2 separate regions of the Homo sapiens genome follow, and region 1 is linked to region 2. Evidence: promoter capture Hi-C in human tissues and cell types (Jung and others, 2019). All regions are on one chromosome and are shown on one strand. The core of a region is centred on a gene start or on the middle of the fragment in contact, and the rest is flanking DNA. Distances in the headings are between cores, read along the strand shown. Region 1 has its middle 59 kb from the start of JMY. Region 2 holds the start of BHMT2 (betaine--homocysteine S-methyltransferase 2).

The links. Contacts are between HindIII fragments. The study calls those that stand out against the background at their distance.
Region 1: a contact is called between a fragment that was not itself captured here and the fragment with the promoter of BHMT2 in region 2, in 2 of the 25 tissues and cell types used here (neural progenitor cells and thymus).

Annotation. Positions count from the first base shown.
Region 1 is chr5:79,173,876-79,179,575 of GRCh38, forward strand. No RefSeq gene overlaps it. Among named protein-coding and RNA genes, the nearest start is that of JMY, 59 kb to the right of the region's middle. The HindIII fragment of the contact is 8,849 bases long and covers 1-5,700 here.
Region 2 is chr5:79,067,431-79,072,482 of GRCh38, forward strand. It overlaps BHMT2 (betaine--homocysteine S-methyltransferase 2), which reads left to right and starts at 2,337. Exons shown (of 8, transcript NM_017614.5): 1 at 2,337-2,385. The coding sequence starts at 2,353. It overlaps DMGDH (dimethylglycine dehydrogenase), which reads right to left and starts at 2,244. Exons shown (of 16, transcript NM_013391.3): 1 at 2,090-2,244. The coding sequence starts at 2,190. The HindIII fragment of the contact is 19,729 bases long and covers 1-5,052 here.

The DNA.
Region 1 (5,700 bases), core at 2,757-5,256, 110 kb after region 2:
TGTAAGTAGTGCTACTTACATTCTAAAAAAGCCTTGATTCTAATTGCCCTAGTGTTGTCATTCACGTCTTGAGGGTTCCAGCTCAAGTTTCCTGCGTGACTGGAGGCACCGCCCTCATTCTATTTGATTCATTATGAATAACACAAGGATAATGATGCCTGTAATTACTGACAGTTTGCCACCTTCTTTGAAGTTCCCAAAAGCAAAATGCTCCAAATGTATGCTCATAATTGTTTATTAGTTGGTCAGTTTACAAAGCCAATTTTTGTTTCCTCAAAATTAAATGGCATTTGTTCATTTTTAAAATTTGAGTGACAATGTTTCTAAGTTAAACCCAGGAGGCTGGGCTCAGTGGCTCATGCCTGTAATCCCAGCACTTTGGGAGGCCGAGGTGGGCAGATCACTTGAGGTCAGGAATTCAAGACCAGCCTGGCCAACATGGCGAAACATCGTCTCTACTAAAAACACAAAAATTAGCCAGGTGTGGTGGTGGGTGCCTGTAATCCCAGCTACACGGGAGGCTGAGGCAGGAGAATCGCTTCAACCCAGGAGACCAGGGGGTTGCAGTGAACCAGGATCGCAACACTGCACTCCAGCCTGGGTGACAGAGCTAGACTCTGTCTCAAAAAAAAAAAAACAAAAAAAAAACAAAACAAACCACAGTGTATATGCATGGATACATAAATTGAAAAGTACCATTATTAATGAAAAGTCAGCATGTAACAACTGTTGTTTTAGGATAATTATTACTAATGTTGAAAATAATCAAATCTCACCAAAGAAAAAGAGATTATTTTCCTTATAAGGCAGATTACGTGTCTCAGTGATAGTGATTCAAAAATAATCATTTCAAACTTCTTATCTTAAGATTTTTGAGGATCCAATGTCTAAAGGTCTCTCTGCTCCCTGGCCTTCTCATTTCCTACTATATTATAGATTAAATCTCCTAACATTGCTTTGAAAACCTTTGTCTGGCCTTCCTTCTGATTCTACTTTCCATTTTTTACATAGTAAATTTATTGACAGTTTGATACCTAAAGCTCCATGTCTATTTTAATCTGTCTCCATAGTAACAAAACCAGTGTTTAGTTACATTGGTTTAGTTACATTAAGAACACTGTAGCCAGGCACAGTGGCTCATGCCTGTAATCCCAGCACTTTGGGAGGTCGAGGCAGGGGGATCAACTGAGGTTGGGTGTTCGAGACCATCCTGACCAACATGGAGAAACCCCGTCTCTACTAAAAATACAAAATTAGCCGGGTGTGGTGGCACATGCCTGTAATCCCAGCTACTAGGGAGGCTGAGACAGGAGAATCTCTTGAACCTGGGAGGCGGAGGTTGCGGTGAGCGGAGATCGTGCCATTGCACTCCAGCCTGGGCAACAAGAGCAAAACTCTGTCTCAAAAAAAAAAACAAAAAAAACAACCACACACACACACACGCACACGCACACACTGTAAAACATTAGACCAAAGACAAAAACATAGCCAAGAAGAAACTGTTTTCTAGCACCTACTCTGAGTCAGTCTGGTACATTTGATCTAGATTCCATCATCAACATTTTTGTAACAGAATTAGCTGTGCCCTTTAAATCACCCCTCTTGGAGAAATGACATAAAGTTGATGGTAAAATTGTGCATTATCCTGAAGGACTGCTCAAGATGTAATGGTAAAGACAAATAATTGCCTAGACTAAAATCCAAAGGGAAGACAAATTATGGGATCAAGAGGAGCTTCCCATGACTTGAGCAAAACTATTACTTCCATCAAGGGAGCAATTCCCCTTCCCAGCAGGAAACTCACCGAAATTTCCCTGAGTCACTTGCGAACAATGTTGTTATAAATGTGACATGAACTCTCATCCACAATCATAATCCCATAATTTTTAATGTTAATTTTAAGCCCCCCATGATTATTTCATGGGCCTACAAGTTATCTGGATAAAGACGACAGACTCCAAATGATATTCAGCCAAGTGACAGTAATCCTGAAGAACCCTGCCTGGGACGGCTGACCACCACTGCATAGTTACTTACATGTTTACATGTCAGTTTCCCCAGAACCTATCATTATAATGTTCAGGTGTTGTAACACATCAAATATTACAACAGGAGAGACTGCCAAAGACTTAACGCATGCTACAAAGACACAATCTCCTTGGCAAATGATTCAGACAATTAAAATGACAATAACATCAACAAAGTTGGTAAACCAAACCTAGTGTTAAAAAAAAAAAAATGAAGCTTTACTGTATGGAAAAAGAAAAGATTCTGGCCTAGAATCACAGAACTCTATACAAAGTTGGAAAGTGCCTTAGAGGTCATCCAGTTCAGCTACCCACTTGATGAAGAAATCTATTCTACAAAGTTCTTGACAAGTGGTTATTCAGCCTCTCCTTGTTTATATCCAGCATCCCAATGCAAACTACCGCCACTGAGCCAAAATTTACTTTGCTGAAACTTGCACTCATTGACTCTGTTTTGTAGAGCTTTTAAATCAATTCTGCCACTCCCTTTACTAGTTTAGTTGGGTTTTTAAAAAATACATTATAATAATAATAGCAAGCATTTATTGAATACTTACTATATGCTAAGTATTGGACTGGGTGTTTTTATATGAACTATCTTATTTATTTAGTGATTATGAGCATAAACTCTGGAACCAGATTGTCTGAGTTAGAATTCCAACTCTGCCATTTATTAGCTGTAATCATTGGACAAGTCATTTAACCTGTCTATGCCTCAGTTCCTCAACAATACAAAATAGGGATAAACATAATAATAAGGTCTACCTAGTAGGATTATGAAAATTAAATGCCAGTGTATGTAAAGTGTTTAGAACAGTGCCTAGCATATGATAAAAACTGTAAAAATGTTGTTGTGCTGCTCATTGTTAGTATGATTATTATTATTTGAGACGGAGTCTTGCTCTGTCACCCAGACTGGAGTGCAGTGGCGCGATCTCAGCTCACTGCAACCCCTGCCTCCAGGGTTCAAGTGGTTCTCCTGCCTCAGCCTCCAGAGTAACTGGGACTAAAGGCATGCACCAGTACGCCTGGCTAATTTTTGTATTTTTAGTGGAGATGGGGTTTCACCACGTTGACCAGGCTGGTCTTGAACTCCTGACCTCAGGTGATCCGCCCGCCTTGGCCTCCCAAAGTGCTGGGATTACAGGCGTGAGCCACCATACCTGGCCTATTATTACTCCCATTTTACAGATAAAAAGATTGAGGTTTAGTAAAAAGGTTAGGCAACTTGAGGATGGGATTTTCAATTATCCTTGTTAGATCACATCTGAAATCAGTTTATTACTCAAAGTGTTTGCTATTTATTGTGCATTTGCTATTTTATTTAGCTTTGCACATTAGTCTATTTTCTTTTTTTTTTCTTCTTTTTTTTCAGACAGGGTCTCACTATATTGCCCAGGCCGGTCTTAAACTCCTGAGCTCAAGTGATCCTCCGGCTTCAAAGCCTCCCAGTAGCTGAGATTACAGGCACAGGCCACCAGGCCTGGCTTTAGTCTATTTTTAAACAGATTCAATTCCAGGAACTCTTTCCAGTGTTTGTCCTCCCGTGAAACAAAACAATCTCGCATTAATCTAGAGATGGTACAGGTATGTTTGGAAAACAATATTGCAAAATATATCAACAATCATAAAATTGTTCAAAGCATTTTTTTTGAGACTGAGTCTTGCTGTGTTGCCTAGGCTTGACTGGACTGCAACAGCTGTTCACAGGCACAATCATTGCACACTACAGCCTCGAGCTCTTGGGCTCAAGCAATCGTCCTGCCTCAGTCGCCCAAGTAGCTGGGACTGCAGTCACACACATCTCCATATCCCACTCTCAAAGTCTTAGATTCAATAATATTTCTTATGAAAAGCTATCCTCCAGAAATAATTTAACAAAATGAGTAAGCTACATATTCCCAAATTTTTCTTATAGCATTACCAGCTGAATTTCCCCAAACTATATTAGAGATAAATATTAGGGGTATAGTGACGTAAATTATAATAAACATAAAAAGAAATTATATAGTTAATTAATCATTATGATACATAAAATCACGGAAAGAAATTTATGATATAATATTAAATAAAAGGCCAGGCACAATGGCTCACATATGTAATCCCAGCATTTTGGGAGGCCAAGGCAGGAGGACTGCTTGAGGCCAGAAGTTCAAGACCTGGGCAACACAGCGAGACCCTATCTCTACCAAAAAAAGCACAAAAATAAGCTGAGTGTGGTACCCCACACCTGTAGTCCTAGCTACTTGAGAGAATGAGGCAGGAGGATCACTTGAGCCCAAAAGTTTGAGGCAGCAGTGAGCTGTGGTGGCACTACTGTACTCCAGCCTGGGCAACAGAGCAAGACACTGTCTCTAAAAAAAAAAAAAAAAATTAAAATTAAAGTTAAAATTTAAAAATATATATATAAGGCCAGGCACGGTGGCTCAAGCCTATAATCCCAGCACTTTGGGAGGCTGAGGTGGGCGGATCATGAGGTCAGGAGTTTGAGACCAGCCTGGCCAACATGGTGAAACCCCATCTCTGCTAAAAATACTAAAAAATTAGCCAGGTGTGTTGGCGTGCACCTGTAATCCCAGCTACTTAGGAGGCTGAGGCAGGAGAATCGCTTGAAAGCCGGCAGGTGGAGGTTGCAGTGAGCCGAGATCATGCCACTGCACTCCAGCCTGGGCAACAGAGCAAGACTCTGTCTCAAAAAAAAAAAAAAAATGTATACACACACACACACACACACACACACACACACACAATATATAATATATATTACATATATTATATATTATATAATATATCACATATATTATATAATATATCACATATATATCACATATATTATATAATATATCACATATATATCACATATATTATATATCACATATATATCACATATATTATATAATATATCACATATATTATATATTACATATATTATATATCACATATATATTATATATTACATATATTATATATTATATTACATATATTATATATTATATTAAATATATTGTATATTATATATAATATATTAAATATATTGTATATTATATATAATATATACACCATATATTATATATTATATATAATATATGGTGTATATATACTATATACATTATATATACACTATATACACTATATATTATATATAATATACTATATATAATATAGTATTATAGTATATAATACTATATATAATATGTATTATAGTATTATATAATATATATACTATATATAATATAGTATATTTATTATATAATACTATATATTATATATAGTATTATATTATATAATACTATATATTATATATAGTATTATATTATATAATATATATTATATATAGTATATATATTAGTATATATACTAAGTATATATACTAGTATATATACTAAGTATATATACTATATATTATATATATAAAAACATACATATAGGCTGGTGCAGTGGCTCACTTGGACAAGTTTTATATATATGTATGTTTATTGTATATATGTGTATATATGTGTATATTATTTTATATACATTTATATATTTATATTCATATATAATAATTATATATATATATAATAGGAGGTTGAAACTGCAGGGAACCGTGATCATGCCACTGCACTCCTGTCTGGGCAACAGAGTGAGACACTGTCTCAAAAAAATAAATAAATAAATAAATATTTAAAAAGAA
Region 2 (5,052 bases), core at 1,087-3,586:
TTCTTTCAGGACAGTGGTCAGTTGAAACAACAACAACAAAAGAGAACTTAAGATCAGGAAACCTGGGTTTGAGTCCCCAATCCAACTGAACAGCTATTTTAGAGAAATTTACACAAGGGTCTCAAAGTTTTCTCATTTGCAAAACGGAGCTGTGAAGGTTCTGTTTGGCAACATATGATAAAGCATTATCAAATATATAGTATTTCCTCGGCCCAGCATGCCATAATAGGTTTCAGACTAGGTATAGTGTTTTTGATTATGTGGATAACTATCTTAAAATCCTTCTGAATGTAGTCGAGGATGTTTATAAGAGTATTTGAAATAAAACTTAGGAGCCATGCAAAAAACCCAGGTCAGTTATCTTCTGTATTAGAAATGATAAGCACAAACTGTATGCTTGTTCAACTGCTTTCCAAAATAAAACATTTTTTGATAGTTTGAAATTGGGTATATAAAGAATATGCAATTGAAATAACTCAACTTTTGGGTGTTTTTGTTTTTGTTTGTGAGATGGAATCCCTGTCGCCCAGGCTGGAGTGCAGTGGTGCAATCTCGGTTCTCACTGCAGTCTCCGCCTCCCAGGTTCAAGCGATTCTCCCGCCTCAGCCTCCCAAGCAGCTTGGACTACAGGTGCACACCATGACACCCAGTTAATTTTTGCATTTTTATTAGAGACAGAGTTTCACCATGTTGATCAGGCTGGTCTCAAACTCCTGGCCTCAAGTAATCTGCCCACCTCAGCTTCCCAAAGTGCTGAGATTACAGGCATGAGCCACCACACTCAGCCAAAATATGAATTTTTTGGATAGTCTTGAAATTTGTATCTTATTTATCTAATCAGTTTGTTTGTTAAATTTCCATTTTATTTTGCACTGGATTAAAAACATCATTATTATAAATATTTTTGCATTGCTTTACAATTTACAAAGCACTTTCACATGCATTCTCTTATTTAATATTCACAGCAATCCTGTGAGTTATATAGAGCAAAATTAGTATCCTCATTTTATAGATGAGGAAACTGAACCTCAGAAGTGTAAGGTCACATTCTGTGTAACAGATGGCGCAGGAACTGTGAGTTGGTGGCTACTGCATTCCCAGTACTGGAGACAAACCTAGCACATCACAACACCCAGTAAATATTTGTTGAATGGATAGATGGAACTCAAAAGCAGGTCTTCTGATTCCAGAATTTCAGGTCATAGGACATAAAATAAAATTCGAATCAACTCATAATAATGTTGAGTGATGCTGATAAACAAGCCTTTCCTGGCAACCAGGAATAATCTACAAATATAAGAAGTCGAAAGATGTTCAGCATTGCTCATATTTAAATACAGACCAATCAAAACAAGGACATGCCATTTTTACCTATCAGATTTAGCAAAGATAACAAAATGGGCTATTCTGGGAACCAGGGAAGATGTGGGAAACAGACACACACTGGTGTGCCGCATGCAAACTCTTGCCACCCACTTGGAGAATGTGTTGCTGTCTTTCAATCTTTCAGATGCACGTAACCTTTTCCCTAACAAGTTCACCTTTAAAAACTGTTGCTACCGACTCCCATATGTACTCAAAGATAGATGCCTAAGAATTTTCACATGCACGTTATTTGCAGTAATAAACAACCAAAAACCATTTAAATGTTAATGAATAGACTAACGATAGTGTAGAATATTGACAGGATGGAAAACTATGCAGCCATTAAAAGGAACAAGGCAAGTCAGTGTGTGCTGATATGGAACAATCTCCAAGATATATTGATAATTGTAAAAAGCAAGATGTCAAAAAGCCAAAGGAAAACCTATACTGACCTGTGTTTGCCTATGCGTAGACTGTCTCTGGTTAGATTCAGAAGACACTATTAACAATTGTTCACTGGCCAAGGGGATTGGGGCAGGAGAGACTTTACACGGGGAACCTTTGGATACTGTTTCACTTTATAATTAAAAGATAATTCGAGAAGATATATCAAGGCCTATTTCTTGGAGGCCAGAGCGCTCCTAACCCCTGAGCCTGCCTCAGCCTCTGGCTCCCACCCCCGCAGCCGCCCCGTCGCCTCTGAGCAGGACGGGGCCCCACTCACCCTTCCCGGCCGCAGACAGAGCGCGGGCGCCCGGGGGAGCCCTGCAGCGGGCAGCTCCGCAGCAGGAGGCCCCGCAGCAGCTGCGCGCCGGGACGGAGCATGACTAGGCCGAGGCCGAGGGCGCAGGCGCCTGCTCCGAGGCCAGCGGGCAGCCTGAGGCCGCGGGGCCGGCGGGGCGGGGGTCGGATCCTCCCCCCGGGCTGGGGGCGGGCTCCTAGACGGCCGCGCGCCCGGGAACCCGGCGCCCACAGAGCCGCGGCACCATGGCACCTGCTGGACGCCCGGGGGCCAAGAAGGTGAGTTTCGTCCCCTCGATCCTCGCGGAGCTCCTGGCCGCTGGGCTGCGAGCGACTCCGTTCACACCCGGCGTCCATCCCTAGCCAAGCCCTGGGGCCTCGGCAAAACACTTGGACGGGATGGCCCTGAGCCTCAATTTTCCCCTGTCACGGGTTGGTTAGCGTTTATGGAGCCCTTACTCGGTGCCTGGCGCTGCACAGAGTGCTGTGCTCAAGTTATCTCCTCATCTTCACAATTATCCCCATTTCACAGGTGAGGAAACTGAGGCTCGGCGAGTCAGGCGACTAGCTCAGGGTCACGGGTCCAGCCCCGCGGGGAGCGAGGATCAGAAGTCTAGCTTTCGGACGCATGTCGCGCACACATTTTCTTCCCTCAACCGACCCTCGCCCGCAGCTCTTTGGGCTAATCCGTCCGGGAACTCTTCGGACTGTCCCCTCGCGTTTTGGAAAAGTCAGCAGCCTGGCCAAGCAGCCTGGCCTTGCGAGTCGCCGGCTGGTCTGAAACTAGTCCTGGGCAAGGACGCCCCCAGAGCTGCGGTGCAGGGTGGAGGGTAGGTGGGATTCGCTAGCACCCCTCAACCTCCTCTCACCCGGTGGTCCCCAGCTCCTGGCCCCTTTCCTGGTCTGGTCACCAGATGTTGGCTTTATGCCCAGCCATTTCTACGTCGAGTATGTGTGGGGGTGGGATGAAGGAGTGACTAAGCAAAATTAGGAAGGGCATGAGCTTGGACGAAAGACATCCCCAGGACCCTTCAGAGACCCCCACCCGCTCCAGCCCTGTCATTCAGAATGGGAGGAAGGGAGGAGGGGCAGTTTATGCGTGGAAATGTGCACCACCGAGCTATTTATACTAAAAAGTTAGAAACGACCAAGATACTCTGCAATACGGGATTCTAAATAAATTAAGGTTCATCTACTTAAGTTATTAGACAGTTAAATAACTTAGTATGAGAACCAGCTAAGTGCCTTGGCAATGTTAAGTTGCAAAAGGAAATATATCACAAACTGATCCCAACCATATACAAATATTTATATACACACTGTAAGGAAGGACACAATAATGGTAATAGTTACACAAGATGTGGAATATTGGTTTAAAAAGCATGTTTTAGGATATTTTTTCAGGTTATAAAAGCAAAATGTGAGCATTGAAAGAATACAGTTAATAAAAATAATCAAAGAACATTGTGCTTTTTTCTCTCAACTTTCTCTAATGCTATGTTCATCTTTACAGTTCATATTTTTAAACGTTTTTAAAATGCCCTGTTTTTGTTCAGTGTCTTTGGGGCCTCTACTGTTACAACACCAAGATTATCACACACTAATCCATGTGAATGTGTACCTGGGAGTTAAGGTGTTAATGGGAAGGAACTAATCTCACCTCTCTCCTCAGCTAGCAGGTACATTTTAAGAATTCATTTAATTGCCACAGACAAGACCTCCAATTAGGTCTTAAATCCAAAAGAGCAGTTCTGCTGGCAAATCTAGGAAAAGGGGAAGTTATTTTAGACAGACTGGGTTTTTCTGATCACCTCCTACTACACAGTGAAGTTGATCCCCACTGAGTATGAATAGAGATGTCTTGAAGCCAGATCTTAAACCCAGAGGTCTTACGTAGTGATATCTGCAAAAAGGGGGCATAAATGCACCCTAGAGCTCGCTGTCAGATGCAAGGCAGGTTCACTGCCAAACTGATGGGGAGGAGGGAATGAAAATATAAATGTACTGCAAAATTAATTTACAGGGTTCCTTATTTTACATGTTCCTGTCTTTATAATTTTACAGTTGACTTTAGATCGTACTAGTATAATGGTGAGGAACAACACACACTGGGGCCTATCGAAGGGTGGAGGGTGGAAGGAGGGAGAGGATCAGGAAAAATAACTAATGGATACTAGGCTTAATACCTGGGTGAGGAAATAACCCATATAGCAAACCTCCAATGATGCACATTTACCTGTGTAACAAACCTGCACATCCTGCACATGTACCCCTGAACTTAAAAGTAAAAAAAAAAAAAAAAAAAAAAACTAAAGAAGGGATCATACTGGTATAGTAATTAATTGAGGTAGTTAGAATAGCAGTGAAGGAAGGGCTAAAAGATGCTCTGATCTCAAATCTTGATAACTTAGTTATTTTGCTAATGGCTATGTAGAAAAATGGCAAATTGGCCGGGCACAGTGGCTCACACCTGTAATCCTAGCACTTTGGGAGGCCGAGGCAGGCAGATCATCTAAGGTCAGGAGTTCGAGACCACACTGGACAACATGGTGAAACCCTGTCTCTACTAAAAAATACAAAATTAGCTGGGCATGGTGGCATGCACCTATAATCCCAGCTACTTGCGAGGCTGAGGCAGGAGAATTGCTTGAACCCTGGAGGTGGAGGTTGCAGTGAGCTGAGATCGCGCTACTGCACTCCAGCCTGGGCGACAAGAGTGAAACTCTGTCTCAAAAAAAAAAAGAAAGAAAAGAAAAGAAAAATGGCAAATTTAAAATGGTGGACAAACATCCAGATAACAAATGAAAATGTCCTCCCTTTACTTGGTTTCATAAAGACACAGTCAAAATATATACTACAATTTTCTTAAAACCTACCTAATTGTCTGCTAAAGAGTAACATTTTTTCTTCTTCAGGACAAAAATTCTAGCATATGCAATACATCTG